Regions from separate parts of the Homo sapiens genome. Here region 2 is linked to region 1. Evidence: promoter capture Hi-C in human tissues and cell types (Jung and others, 2019). All regions are on one chromosome and are shown on one strand. The core of a region is centred on a gene start or on the middle of the fragment in contact, and the rest is flanking DNA. Distances in the headings are between cores, read along the strand shown.

Region 1 (6,725 bases), core at 4,125-6,624:
AGAGCACAATTCGGTTTTATACATTTTAGGGAGACATGAGACATCAATCAGTTTATGTAAGATGAATATTGATTTGGTCTGGAAGGTGGGACAACTTGAAGCAAAGGAGGACAACTTGAAGTGGGGAGGGGGCTTCTAGGTCATACATAGATAAGAAACAAATGGTTACATTCTTTTGAGTTTCTGATTAGCCTCTCCAAAGGAGGCAATCGGATACAGATATATCTCAGTGAGCAGAGGGGTGACTTTGAGTAGAACGGGAGGAAGGTTGGCCCTAAGCAGTTCCTAGCTTGACCTTTCCCTTTAGCTTAGTGATTTTTGGGGACCCAAGATTTATTTTGCTTTCACACTCTCCATGATTCAATTTTTTTTCTCCTCTTTTTCACTCATTTCACTGTCTTTGTTGCCCATCTAGTTGACAAACGAGGACATTCACCATCCCTTTTTACTCCATAAATACAGAAGCAGAATTGGTCCTTCTAACACCAGACTTGTACTGTCATTCAACTTTTCCCATGTGCAGTAGCTCTCCAACTAGCACAGGGACCACAGCTTTGCTGCCTCAGGTTGCGGCTACTCCCCACAAAGCTACTATTCCATAACACATCCCTTCACTTCATTTATAGAATCTACAGTAGGGTTGAAAGGCAGCACTTAGTGTAGGGAACACTGTTCTAATACTTTAATCAGCATATACCATCTAAGTACAGGCTGTTGTAGGATATCCTGGCTCCACTGACCTTCTAAAACAATTTGTCTGTCCATTTGTTTCTTGAAGGATGACTCCCAAGTCTCCAGGGTACATTATACCCCAGCCAGTGGTGCTGGCCTTTACTCCTCTACCTCCTCAAGCTGTCACCTCCACATTGTCCCTATGTCCATTCTCCTGCTTGGGCTCCATCCACACTCACCTGCCCTTCCTTCCAGAACAGCCTCTTCCAGCCCCTCTCCACAGAACCACACTGGCCTGAGTCAGGAGGTCAGTGACAGCCCACTTTCAGTTTCATTTCTCTCCCCAACAAGTCAACCACTGGGGGAAGTTTGAATGTTGACACACTTCATCTGGGTCCCACTGTGCTTCCCCTCAACAATGCCAGGTGGGGGAAGGTCCAAAAAGTTCAGGCCTGTTCATTACTGCCAAGTGGTCATTCAAAGCCAGTAAGTTATGTCGGTTACAAACAAGCTACAAAAAATTTTGTAACAAAGGTAAAAGTAAGCCCTATTAAGTTGTATTTTATATATACATATATATATTTTAAATTATACAATTTTATATATAAAACTTTATATATAATTTAAATTATAAAATTATGTTTGCTGCCTCAGATTGCAGCTACTCCCTATTATTCCATAACACATCATTTTATGTATATATACAAAATGATATATATATTATATATATATAAAATGAATGGAAATTGGAAGAGCTGAAGGAATTCTATTTTCTTCTTGAACAAGGTGAAATTTTTTATCAGCTGGACACACTTTTTCATGACTGAGCATAAGACATTTTCCATTTCCCCACCCCCATCTTGTTCCTCAAGTTTTCTATTATTTGGACAGCAAAGAAAGCTTTCCACATAAAGAAAATGTCTTTAAATTAAATGTTTAGAATTTCACATTGTAAATACTTTTGTATTTATGACTTTTAGGAAAATCCTCGATCATTAAAACAGCCCTAAGCTTAAAACTTTTTCTAATCAAGGTGGTTTTTAGAGCATGTTCAATTTGCAGTCACTGAGTCCATTTCTTAACCAGTAACTAAGGAAATTAGGAAAGTACAACCTAATGACCCTGGAATAGGATGGAGTCAAATCACACTCACCATACACTGCTTCTGATTACTGAACAGGCTCCCTAAAGATGCTGTGTTCATTACTGGACATTTTTTTGTTTGCAAATTCTAATTCTGAAAGATTTGTTTTACTAAAATCCACGGCACAAAGAGTGAGATTTTCTCAATGGCAGCAGGCTTTTTGGTAAATGATATTAGTTTAGAAACACAATATCTTTATAGTCAGAATGAAATTAAAATTTGGAGGGACAGTTTTGCATTTTTCTAAACTTAAAACCCTGATCAACTGTAACCAATCTTAAAAATAATACAGTTTTCTTATCTATGATTTAGGAAAATATTTTCTGCATTCAGGCTAAAATTTTAAAACATGTAAAAATGGAAAAAATTAAGGAAATTTTAACACTACTACTAATAAGCATTTACTAAGCATGTTGGCCATTTGCAGAGCTAAATATATTATTTACATCATTTCCATGTTATAATGACAATAAACATACATAAGGGCGGTTTAACAAAAACTATTGGTTCTGCTGCTGGGGAGAAATTCATTCAGCTTCCATTTGCCTTAGTTTTCAAAAACTAATTGGCTTTTTCCCATAATTGTTATTGTCATCTTTCATGATATTGCTGACATAAAATGCAATCCTACATCAAGGATTTTTAGCCCCAGAGGAGTAGAGGAGCAATTTTTACAGGCTTTACATATACTTCTCAGCTTTTATACCATTTCTCTACTAGAAGTCACAAACTGAAGGTCCTAGGCAAAAAGCAACCTACAAATATGCATGGTTGGGCTTGTATATTTTTGCCTTTCCATTTCTAAAAATGTAATTAGCTGCTAATATTGAAAAGCTAGGGAATGTCACTTTTGGCTTCCATATTTTCTTGAAACTATGGCCCAAATCCCCAAAGGCCATCAATTAGCTAAGTAACTGGCTGCCCCATTAGCAAGAGCTGCCTCTGCCTTCATTACCATCCCCACACACTCCAAGCTTCAGGCTAGTTGCTATTCATCACACAGTAGTCTGCCTTTCATCTACCCCACTTCCCTCAAATTGTTTACTGGCAGGTTCCCAGAGATATTTAGGTTTGTAATTCCTGTCCTGAATTGCAAACATGATACTAATAGTGAAAACTTCCATAGTGTTTACTAGAGCTAAGCAATTTTCTAGGTACTTAAAATGCATTAATTCATTAAATCTTCAAGATAACCAATAGGGTGAAGAGTGCATCAGTCTGTTTTCACACACTGTGATAAAGAAATACCTGAAACTGGGTAATTTACAAAGAAAAGAGGTTTAATTGGTTCATGGTTCTGCAGGCTGTACAAGAAGTACAGCAACTTTTGCTTGGCTTCTGGGGAGGCCTCAGGAAACTTACAATCATCGCAGAAGGCAAAGGGGGAGTGAGAACTTCACATGGCCAGAGCAAGAGGAAGAGAGACGCAAGAAGAGCTATATACTTTTAAACAACCTGATCTTGTGATACCTCACTCTCGCCATGACAACACCAAGGGAGGTGGTGTTAAACCATGAGAATCCGCCCCCACTATCCAATCACCTCCCACTGCACCCCACCTCCAACATTGGGAGTTACAATTGAACATGAGATTTGGGTGGGGACACAGATCCAAACCATATCAAACACTGTTAGCATCTCCATTTTTACAGATTAGGAAACTGTGACACCAAGAAGTTAAGAATTTGTCCAAGGCAACACATTTTGTAAGTGGTGGCACCAGACTCCCAGACAGGAATCTAGCCAAGGGCCTGAGAATCCACCATTAAGCTTTATTTTTAAACATAGTGGAAGGCTCTGCATGACAACACTGACAACATCACTTCAGTTCTGCTCATTACATTTAGAGGTGTGTGTCTAATGCAAGCTAATCTCTTCTTTGAAACACCTAGGAAACAAAATTTAGGTCGAGTTGTACCTCATGTAGCTCCAAGATACTTCATTAGACAAGCAGCCCCTTCTCCAAGGCTTTGCTGCTATCTACCAAAAAACTGTCATTACAAAAGGACAAATGGCTGGTTCTGAGTCTGAAGGCACTTGCAGAACTGTGCTGTCCACATAGCAATAAGCAGTGCTCCCAAGTTCAAGAATCCTTTCAGTTATTACAGTAAGACGTATTTTGATATCTGCATGCATATAAAATTAATGAAATGCTTTATAGAAATGAAAATCTATGGATAATATGTCATTTTCTATGTAAATACCATCAAATTGGACTTTTTATTACCAAGTCCTCATTTCACGATTATGACTGACAAATGTGTGGCAATGATCCTCTTAAACATTTATATCTCAAAATTCCAGGAATTTTAAGCTATTTCCCTCTGCCCAAGAATGGACTTGAAACACTGCAAGCAGTTTTGTCTTCCATGAACATGACACAACCCACAAAATATTTATTATAGAGCAGGAAACCTCTTTAGTCTGCATCTTTCAGCATTTTTCCTTTTCTTCTTTTATTTTTTCTTAAATTTTTGAATTTGTCGTCTTTTTCTTTCTTTAAAAATAGACCCTAGAAACAGATCCTTTTCTTCTTTTGTGGTGATTTGCCCTTCTAATTATCTAATTATGACTTAATTTAATCTAAATAAATCTAAATGTTTGGGTTTATTATCTGAATATTAAAGATGAGAAGATAGGATTTGAACTCAGACCTGTTTGACTTCCAAATTCTGGTTTGCCCTACTATCCCGTAATGCCTCCTAGATGCCGATTAGTCTAAGCGGCTGCTCCACAAGGCTTTTAAGCATTCAAGAACTCTACTGGACCATTTGAGGGTCTGTTCTGGAGACAGACAGTGCTTCAAGTGCTGAGGGCTCAGGACTTCACCCTCCCAGGAGGTACACACAGTACAAAGCCTAACAATTTGTCAGCACATAATCAATTGAAACCACACTCTAAAGTTAAATTAGTTCCTTCCAAATGGGGCAGACACGTGCTGACCAATTAAGAGGCCCAAAGACTTGGGAGTAGAGGATGAATAGGAATAAATTGAGAAAGTATGCAGGAAAATTATTGAAGGAAGAATGAAGACGAGAATTCTCAATGCTAAGTTCTGGAAGATGCTGGAAGAGAACTGAATCCAAAACAAATATATTTATGTCAACTCATCATTGCTTACATTTTCTAGTCTAACAGAGCAGAACCATGAAATTGTTTGAAAAGTGAAAAGCCTCTTCTAAGTATACAAGCAGGGAGAGCATTAGGAATCGTAAATTAAAAGGACACAGGTCCTAGCAGAGAAGCAATGAAGCATTGGGGAAGAGGGTTTCTGGGGAATTTATGTGAACTTACAGAACTGTGGTCTGCTGTGGTACCTGAGGAATGTGGTCCAGCATCAAGTGCATGCAGCGGACGGTGCTCTTAAAGCAAAGGCACCGGCTGGGGCAGGGCAACCCTGGCAGGCACCACCCGGCCAGGAGAAAGAGAGTGGTCCAGCAGAACAGTCTGGGCTCCATCGCTCCATTCGCTGCTGGCCACGCGAAGAAGCAGCCGGAGGGAGAGCAGCAGCTGCAGCTGCAGCAGCAACCGCAGTGGTGGTGATGGTGGCTGCTGGACTGAGCCAAGTTTGGGAGCCGTGGTGGAAAGCAGCTCCCAGGGAAAGGACACCCCTCTGACCAATCCAGGAGGAGGGATATCACATTACAGGGCTGAGGGCACAAGCAGCTCTAGGAAGCACTAGACTCCCAGAGGCGAGGACGAGAAGCTTTTCAATGCAAAAGCCTCTTTCTAAAACACCGTGTTTTAGGCAGCATAATGCAAACAAACTTTTCCAAAATTACTTCCACTGCGCATTTGATGAAAAACCCGACCTCTTAGCCTCCAGCTGTCCTCTTGAAGCCCAAGTTGATTAAGAATGTATTGAAACAATGCAGAACAGCTTTTCTTCTTTTTTATCTGGTAACATTACCAAACCCTAAAGGGCAGGCAGAGTTCTAATTCGTTCATCTAGGTGCACATATTCTTTCTTTATTCCAAACTATGCTCTTTAATAAAAATTGTTTCATTTCCTTCTATATATTCTGCTGCTGAAACCCAACACATTTCACTCATGTAAGACTCAAACGGGCTACTTCTGATTTCTTCTTTTAACGTTTAAATTTATATGCTTAAAACCATGAACTCACATACCTCCTTCAAGAGGATACAACTGATGGACAAACCTAAGTATGTATATGTAAAGTCAAACAGATGCAAGCTCCCTCAGGACACACTGGCAGCAGTGGTCTTGCTGGTTGCAGACTTTTCATCAGCAGTTTGAACTGGCCATCTTTCCCTGAAGTGAGCAGCACCTCGTTGAGGACGTGTCTGAAAACTTAATAAATATGAAAACATCTACTTTTTGGTCATTCTGTAAGCAGGTATTTTTAAACAGATTTTTGGCTTTATCTTTAAAGACTAACATTTTCAAACAAAAATGTTTTAAATCCATAAAAGTAATAGAAAACAAATTAAAACTTGCATGGTCAATCCCAGATGATCAGACTAGTAGACCAATCTTAAGAGGAAAATAAGTTCATCCTTGTCTCTGCAGAAATGTTTCAGTCCCTTTACATTCTACTGTAGGCGAATACTGCCCTCTTTTGGCAAAATGTTCATATCTAAATATGTGATTTTGGGGAGATTAAAATGTAAAAAGATCTAAAAAACAAAACTAATCTCCATGAACAAGAATGATTTATTTTAAACTTTACATTTGACATTGTTCACATGACTTTTATTGTCCAAGTATACCAATAAAGCCAAAAAACGAAATTTATTCCTTTAAATCCCAACAATCACTATGCTCTTGGCAGTGCCTGTGATTTGGAGGACATAGACAAGACCTGCAGGTTTGTGCCTTGTTTGCAGTTCAAAATATAAAATACAAAAAATATAAATAATATAAAATATATAAAATACAAAAATA
Region 2 (6,725 bases), core at 1,272-3,771, 180 kb before region 1:
GGGTGAGGAATGGGAGGAGGGAAAAAAATTGAGAAACTACCTATTGGGTATGATGCTCATTAGCTGGGTAATGAAATAATCTGTACACCAAACCCCCATGACATGCAATTTACCTGTATTACAAAGCTGCACATGTACCCCTCAACCTAAAATAAAAGCTTTTTAAAAATGAAGATATTAAGACATTTCCAGATAAACAAGAGCTAAGAGATTTTATTGTTAGTGGACCTATCCTACAAGAAATTTTAGAGGGAATCTTTTGAGCTGACATGAAAGGACACTAAATAACAGCTCTAAACAATACAGAGAAGTGAAAATATCCAGTAGAGATAACTATATAGGTAATTATAAAGGACACAATTATTAAATTTCAGGGTTTAAGTCTTCTTTTGATTTCCCATATGATCTAAAATGTAAATACATAAAATAATAGCTATAAATTTATGTTCACAGGCACACCATAATAAAGATGTAATATGTAATAGTAACAACATAACAGTGGAGGTACAGATTGTATAGGGCAGAGTTTATGCTATTGAAGCTAAGTTGATATCAATTACCTCGTGTCTCATTTCTCAAGGAAATGGGATCAGAATCAAAATAGTAAAATAAAAAATTAATTAAATGCAAAAGAAGGTAGTAATGGAGGAGAAGAAGAACAGGAAAGGTATAAAACATACAGAAAACAGGAAAATGACAGAAGTAAGTCCTTTCTTACCAGTAATTATTTTTAATATAAATAGATTGAGTTCTCCAATCAAAAGGCAGAGAGCAGCAGAATGACTTTTAAAACATGATGCAAATAATTTTTTTGGCTATGACTCCAAAACAACAAACAACAGGGCCCCAAATTATATGAAGAAAAAAGGACCACTGAAGAGAGAAAGTGATAGTTCTACAGTAATAGTTGGAGACTCCAATACCCTACTTTTAATAATGGATAGAACATGTAGACAGAAGATAAATAACAATATAGAGGACTTGAAAAGCACTGTAAATCAACTACATCTAACAGGCTATATTATTTACACCACAACAGGCAGGGTGGGGTGGCTCATGCCTGTAATCCCAGCACTTTGGGAAGCTGAGGCAGGCAGATCACTTGAGCCCAGGAGTTCAAGACTACCCTGGTCAACATGGCAAAATCTTGTCTCTACAAAATGTAAAGAAAAATGAGCCAGGCATGGTGGCACATGCCTGTAGTCCCAGCTACTCAGGAGGCTAAGGTGGGAGGATCATGTGAGCCAAGAGTTCAAGGCTGCAGTGAACTATGATTGCATTACTGCCTGGGCAACAGAATGAGACCCTATCTCAATCAATCAATCAATCAATAAAGTATTTAAAAAATAAAAATATTTACACCACGATGCAGTTATAGAATAAACATTTTTTCAAGTACTTATGGAACGTTTAAGATGGACCACATATCAAACCATAAGTAAGTCCAAAGTATTAATAAGCTTTAATAGATTGAAATAATACAAAATATCTTCCCTAACCAAATAGAATGAATTTAGAAATCAGTAACAGAAGTAAAACTGGAAAATTCATAAATATGTGGCAATTAAACTATATACCCTTTTGTTTTTTGTTTTGTTTTGTTTTCTGTAATTTTAGATTTTCTGTTATTTTAGATTCAGGGGGTACATGTGTAGGTTTGTTACATGGGTATACTGGGTGATGCTGAGTTTTGGAGTATAAATGATCCTGTCATACAGATAGTGATCGCATTACACAATATGTAGCTTTTCAGTCCTTGCACCCTTCCCTCTCTCACCATTCTAATACCCCCCGTGTCAATTTGTTCCCATATTTATGTCCATATGTACCCAATGTTTAGCTCACACTTACAAGTGAGAACACATGGTATTTGGTTTTTCTGTTTCTGCATTAATGTGCTTAGGATAATGAGCTCCAGCTGCATCCACGTTACTGCAAAGGACATGATTTCATTCTCTTTTGTGGATGCATAGTAGTCCATGGTGTATGTGTACCACATTTTCTGTATCCAATCCACTGTTGATAGGCACCTAGGTTGATTCTGTCTTTGTTATCGTGAGAGTGCTATAATGAACATATGAATGCATGTGTCTTTTTGGTAGTACAGTTGTTTTTCCTTTGGGTATATACCCTGCAATGAGATTGCTGGGTCGAATGGTAGTTTAAGTTCTTTGAGAAATCTCCAACCTGCTTTCCACAGAGACTGAACTAATTTACATTCCCACCAACAGCATATATGTGTTCTCCTTTCTCTGCAGCCTTACCAGCATCTGTTGTTTTTTAACTTCTTAATAATAGCCATTATCTGCAGTGAGCTATGGTCATGTCACTGCATTCTAGCCTGTGTGACAGAGCAAGACCCCATCTCTAAAAAGAAGAAGAAGAATAGCCATTCTGACAGGTGTGAAATAGTGTTTTACTGTGGTTTCAATTTGCATTTCTCAGATGATTAGTGACGTGGAGCATTTTTTCATATGTTTGTTGGCCGCTTGTATGTCTTTCTTTGAGAAGTGTCTGTTCATGTTCTTTGTTCACTTTTTGATGGGGTTATGTGTTTTTGGCTTCTTTAATTGTTTAAGTTCCTTATACATTCTGAATACTAGACTGTTATTGGATGCACAGTTTGTAAATATTTCCTTCTATCCTATAGCCTATTTATTCTGTTGATAGTTTCTTTTGTTATGGAGGAGCTCTATAGTTTAATCAGGTCCTGCTTGTCAATTTTTGTTTTTGTTGCAATTGCTTTTGAGGACTTAGTCATAAATTATTTCCCAAGTCCAGCATCCAGAATGGTATTTCCTAGGTTTTCTAGGATTTTTAGAGTTTGTGATCTTATATCTGTATCTTTAGTGCAATTTGAGCTAATTTTTTTATACAGTGAAATGTAGGGATCCAGTATCCTTCTTCTGCATATGGCTAGCCAGTTATCGCAGCACCATTTATTGAATAGGGAGTCTTTTCCCCATTGTTTATTTTTGTTGTTGGCTTTTTCAAAGATCAGTTGGCTGTAGGTGTGAAGCTTTCTTTCTGGGTTCTCTATTCTGTTCCATTGGTTTATATGTCTGTTTTTGAATCAGTACCATGCTGTTTTGGTTACTATAGCCTCATAATATAGTTTGAAGTTGGGTTATGTGATGCCTCTGGCTTTGCTCTTTTTGCTTAAGACTTCTTTGGCTATTTGGCTGTCATTTGGTTCCGTATTAATTTTAGAATAGTTTTTTACAATTCTGTGAAAAATGACATCCGTAGTTTGATAGGAACAGTGCTGAATCTGTAGATTCTTTGGGCAGTGTGGCCATTTTAATAATGTTTATTCTTCCAATCCATGAGCATGGACTGTTTTTCCATTTGTTTGTGACATCTATGATTTCTTTCAGCAGTGTTTTGTACTTTTCCTTATAGAGCTCTTTCACCTCTTTGGTTAGATGTATTCCTACATATTTTATTTTTTTGTGGCTATTGAAAATGGGATTGCACTCTTGATATGGCTCCCGGTTTGAACATTATTAGTGTATAGAAATGATATTGATTTCTGTACATTGACTTTGTACTGTGAAACCTTACTGAAGTCACTTATCAGTTCTGGGAGCCTTTTGGTGGAATCTTTAGGGTTTTGTAGGTACAGAATCATATTGTCAGTGAAGACAGATAATTTGACTTCTTCTTTTCCTATTTGGAAGTCTTTTATTTCTTTCTCTAGTCTGATTTCTCTGAATAGGACTTTCAGTACTATGTTGAATAGGGGTGGTGAGAGTAGGTATCCTGTCTTCTTCTAGTTTTTAAGGGGAATGCTTCCAGCTTTTGCCCATCCAGTATGATGTCAGATGACAACACACTCTTTAAATGACAAGTGGGTCAGAGAAGAAATCATGAGGGAAATTTAAAAATACTTAGGACAAACGAAAACAAAAATACTATATACCAAAACTTACGGGATGCAGTGAAAGCAGTGCTGAGAGAGAAATTTATAACTGTAAAGGCCTACATTTTCAAAAAGTAGAAGATCTCAAATGGATAACCTAACTTTACATCTGAAGGAGTTAGAAACAGAAAAGCAAGCTAAATGCAAAGCAACCAGAAGGAAGAAAATTAAGATTAGAGTGGAGATAAATGAAACAGAGAAGAGAAAAACAATAAATAGAGTCAATGAAACCAAAAGTTGGTTCTTTGAAAAGATCAATACAATTTTAAAAACTTTAGCTAGGCTAACCATGAAAGCAAGAAAAATAAAAAGTGAAGACAATACTACTGACTTTATTAAAAGAGATAAATAAAATATGAGAGTACTATTAAAATTGTACACCAACAAATTAGATAACCTAAATAAAATAGAGAAATTATTAGAAATAGACAAATTACAAAAACTGTCTCAAAAAAAGCAGAAAATCTGAGTGGGGGGCGAAGTACTTTTTAAGAGATTGAATCAATAATCAAAAACCTCACAACAAAGAAAACCTCAAGACCAGATAGTTTCACTCGTAAATTTTATCAAATATTTAAAGAATTAATACCACCTCTTCTCAAAATTTTCCAAAAAAATAGAAGAGGAAAGAACGCTTCTTAACTCACTCTATGAGTTTAGTATTAGCCTGCTACTAAACACAGACAAGACACCACAAGAGAAGAAAATACAGAGCAATATCTTTTAGTAATAGTGATGCAAAAATTGTTCAACAAAATACTGGAAAATTGAATAAAAAACATAACATAAACATTATTCACCAGGATCAAGTAGATTTAACCTAAGAATGCAAGGATAGTTTAACATAAGAAAGTCAACCAATGTTATGCACCACATTAATGGAATGATGGAGGAGAAAACACAATCCTATCAAATGATACGTAAAAAGTATTTGACAAAATTCAACACCCTTTTATAATCAACAAAGAATACTCAAAAAACAAGTAATAGCAGGAAATTTCTGAACATAATAAAGGACATTTATTAAAAATCCAGATAACATTATACTTAATGGTGAAAGAAACCTTCCCCCTAAGATCAAGAACATGACAAAGATGCCTATTTTCATCACTACTATTTAACGCTATATTGGAAGTTCTAGCCAGAGCAGTTAGGCAATAAAAAGAAATACAGGCATCCAAACTGGAAAATAAGAAGTAAAACTATCTCTATTCACAGATGGCATAATGTGTATCTAGAAAATCTCAAAGATTTCAGAAAATAACTACTATAGATAATAAATCAATTTATCACACTTGCAGGTACAAAGTCAACATGCAAAAATCTGCTGTGTTCTGTACATAAGCAATAAATAATCTGAAAAGAAAATTAAGAAAACAATTATACTTATCATCAAAAAGAATAAAATGTCTAGAAATAAATTTAATCAAAGTAAACATTTATACATTAAAAACTACAAACATTGCTAAAAGAATAAGGAAGACCTAAATAAATGAAAAAGGATTTCATGTTTATGAATTGGAAAGCTTAAGATGTTGAGATTACAACTACCAAAGTGATACACAGATGTAATACAATCCTTATAAAATTTCCAATGACTTTTTTTTTTTTTCTGCAGAAGTAGAAAACCTGTCCTGAGTAGTGGTTCTCCCAGCATGGAGTGTGAGATCTGAGAATGGACAGACTGCCTCCTCAAGTGGGTCCCTGACCCCAGAGTAGCCTAACTGGGAGGTAACCCCCAGTAGGGGCAGACTGACACCTCACACGGCTGGGTACCCCTCTGAGATGAAGCTTCCAGAGGAACGATCAGGTAGCAACATTTGCTGCTCAGCAACATTCACTGCTCTGCAGCCTCCACTGCTAATTCCCAGGCAAACAGGGTCTGGAGTGGACCTCCAGGAAACTCCAACAGACCTGCAGCTGAGGGTCCTGACTATTAGAAGGAAAACTAACAAACAGAAAGGACATCCACACCAAAACCCCATCTGTATGTTACCATCATCAAAGACCAAAGGTAGATAAAACCATAAAACCACAAAGATGGGGAAAAAAACAGAGCAGAAAAGCTGAAAAGTCTAAAAATCAGAGTGCCTCTCCCCCTACAAATGAACGCAGCTCCTCACCAGCAATGGAACAAAGCAGGACAGAGAATGACTTTGACGAGTTGAAAGAAGAAGGCTTCAGACGATCAAACTTACCTGAGATAAAGGACTAAGTTCGAACCCATCGCAAAGAAGCCAAAAACCTTGAAAAAAGATTAGACGAATGGCTAACTAGAATAAACAGTGTAGAGAAGTCCTTAAATGACCTGATGGAGCTGAAAACCATTGCACAAGAACTACATAATGAATGCACAAGCTTCAGTAGCCGATTCTATCAACCGGAAGAAAGGGTATCAGTGATGGAAGACCAAATGAATGAAATGAAGTGAAAAGAGAAGTTTAGAGAAAAAAGAGTAAAAAGAAATGAACAAAGCCTCCAAGAAATATGGGACTATGTGAAAAGACCAAATCTACATCTGATTGGTCTACCTGAAAGTGACAGGGAGAATGGAACCAAGTTAGAAAACACTCTTCAGGATATTATCCAGGAGAACTTCCCCAACATAGCAAGGCAGGCCAACATTCAAATTCAGGAAATACAGAGAACGCCACAAAGATACTCCTCAAGAAGAGCAACTCCAAGACATATAATTGTCAGATTCACCAAAGTTGAAATGAAGGAAAAAATGTTAAGGGCAGCCAGAGAGAAAGGTCGGGTTACCCACAAGGGGAAGCCCATCAGACTAACGGCAGATCTGTCA

Evidence for each region. Contacts are between HindIII fragments. The study calls those that stand out against the background at their distance.
Region 2: a contact is called between a fragment that was not itself captured here and the fragment with the promoter of PXDNL in region 1, in 2 of the 25 tissues and cell types used here (H1 embryonic stem cells and mesendoderm cells).

The regions. Positions count from the first base shown.
Region 1 is chr8:51,804,071-51,810,795 of GRCh38, forward strand. PXDNL (peroxidasin like) reads right to left here and starts at 5,375. Exons shown (of 23, transcript NM_144651.5): 1 at 5,111-5,375. The coding sequence starts at 5,274. RefSeq lists enhancers at 4,748-5,270, 5,271-5,792. The HindIII fragment of the contact is 3,040 bases long and covers 3,189-6,228 here.
Region 2 is chr8:51,631,281-51,638,005 of GRCh38, forward strand. The region is part of intron 2 of PXDNL (peroxidasin like); the gene reads right to left. Among named protein-coding and RNA genes, the nearest start is that of PXDNL, 170 kb to the right of the region's middle. The HindIII fragment of the contact is 3,424 bases long and covers 810-4,233 here.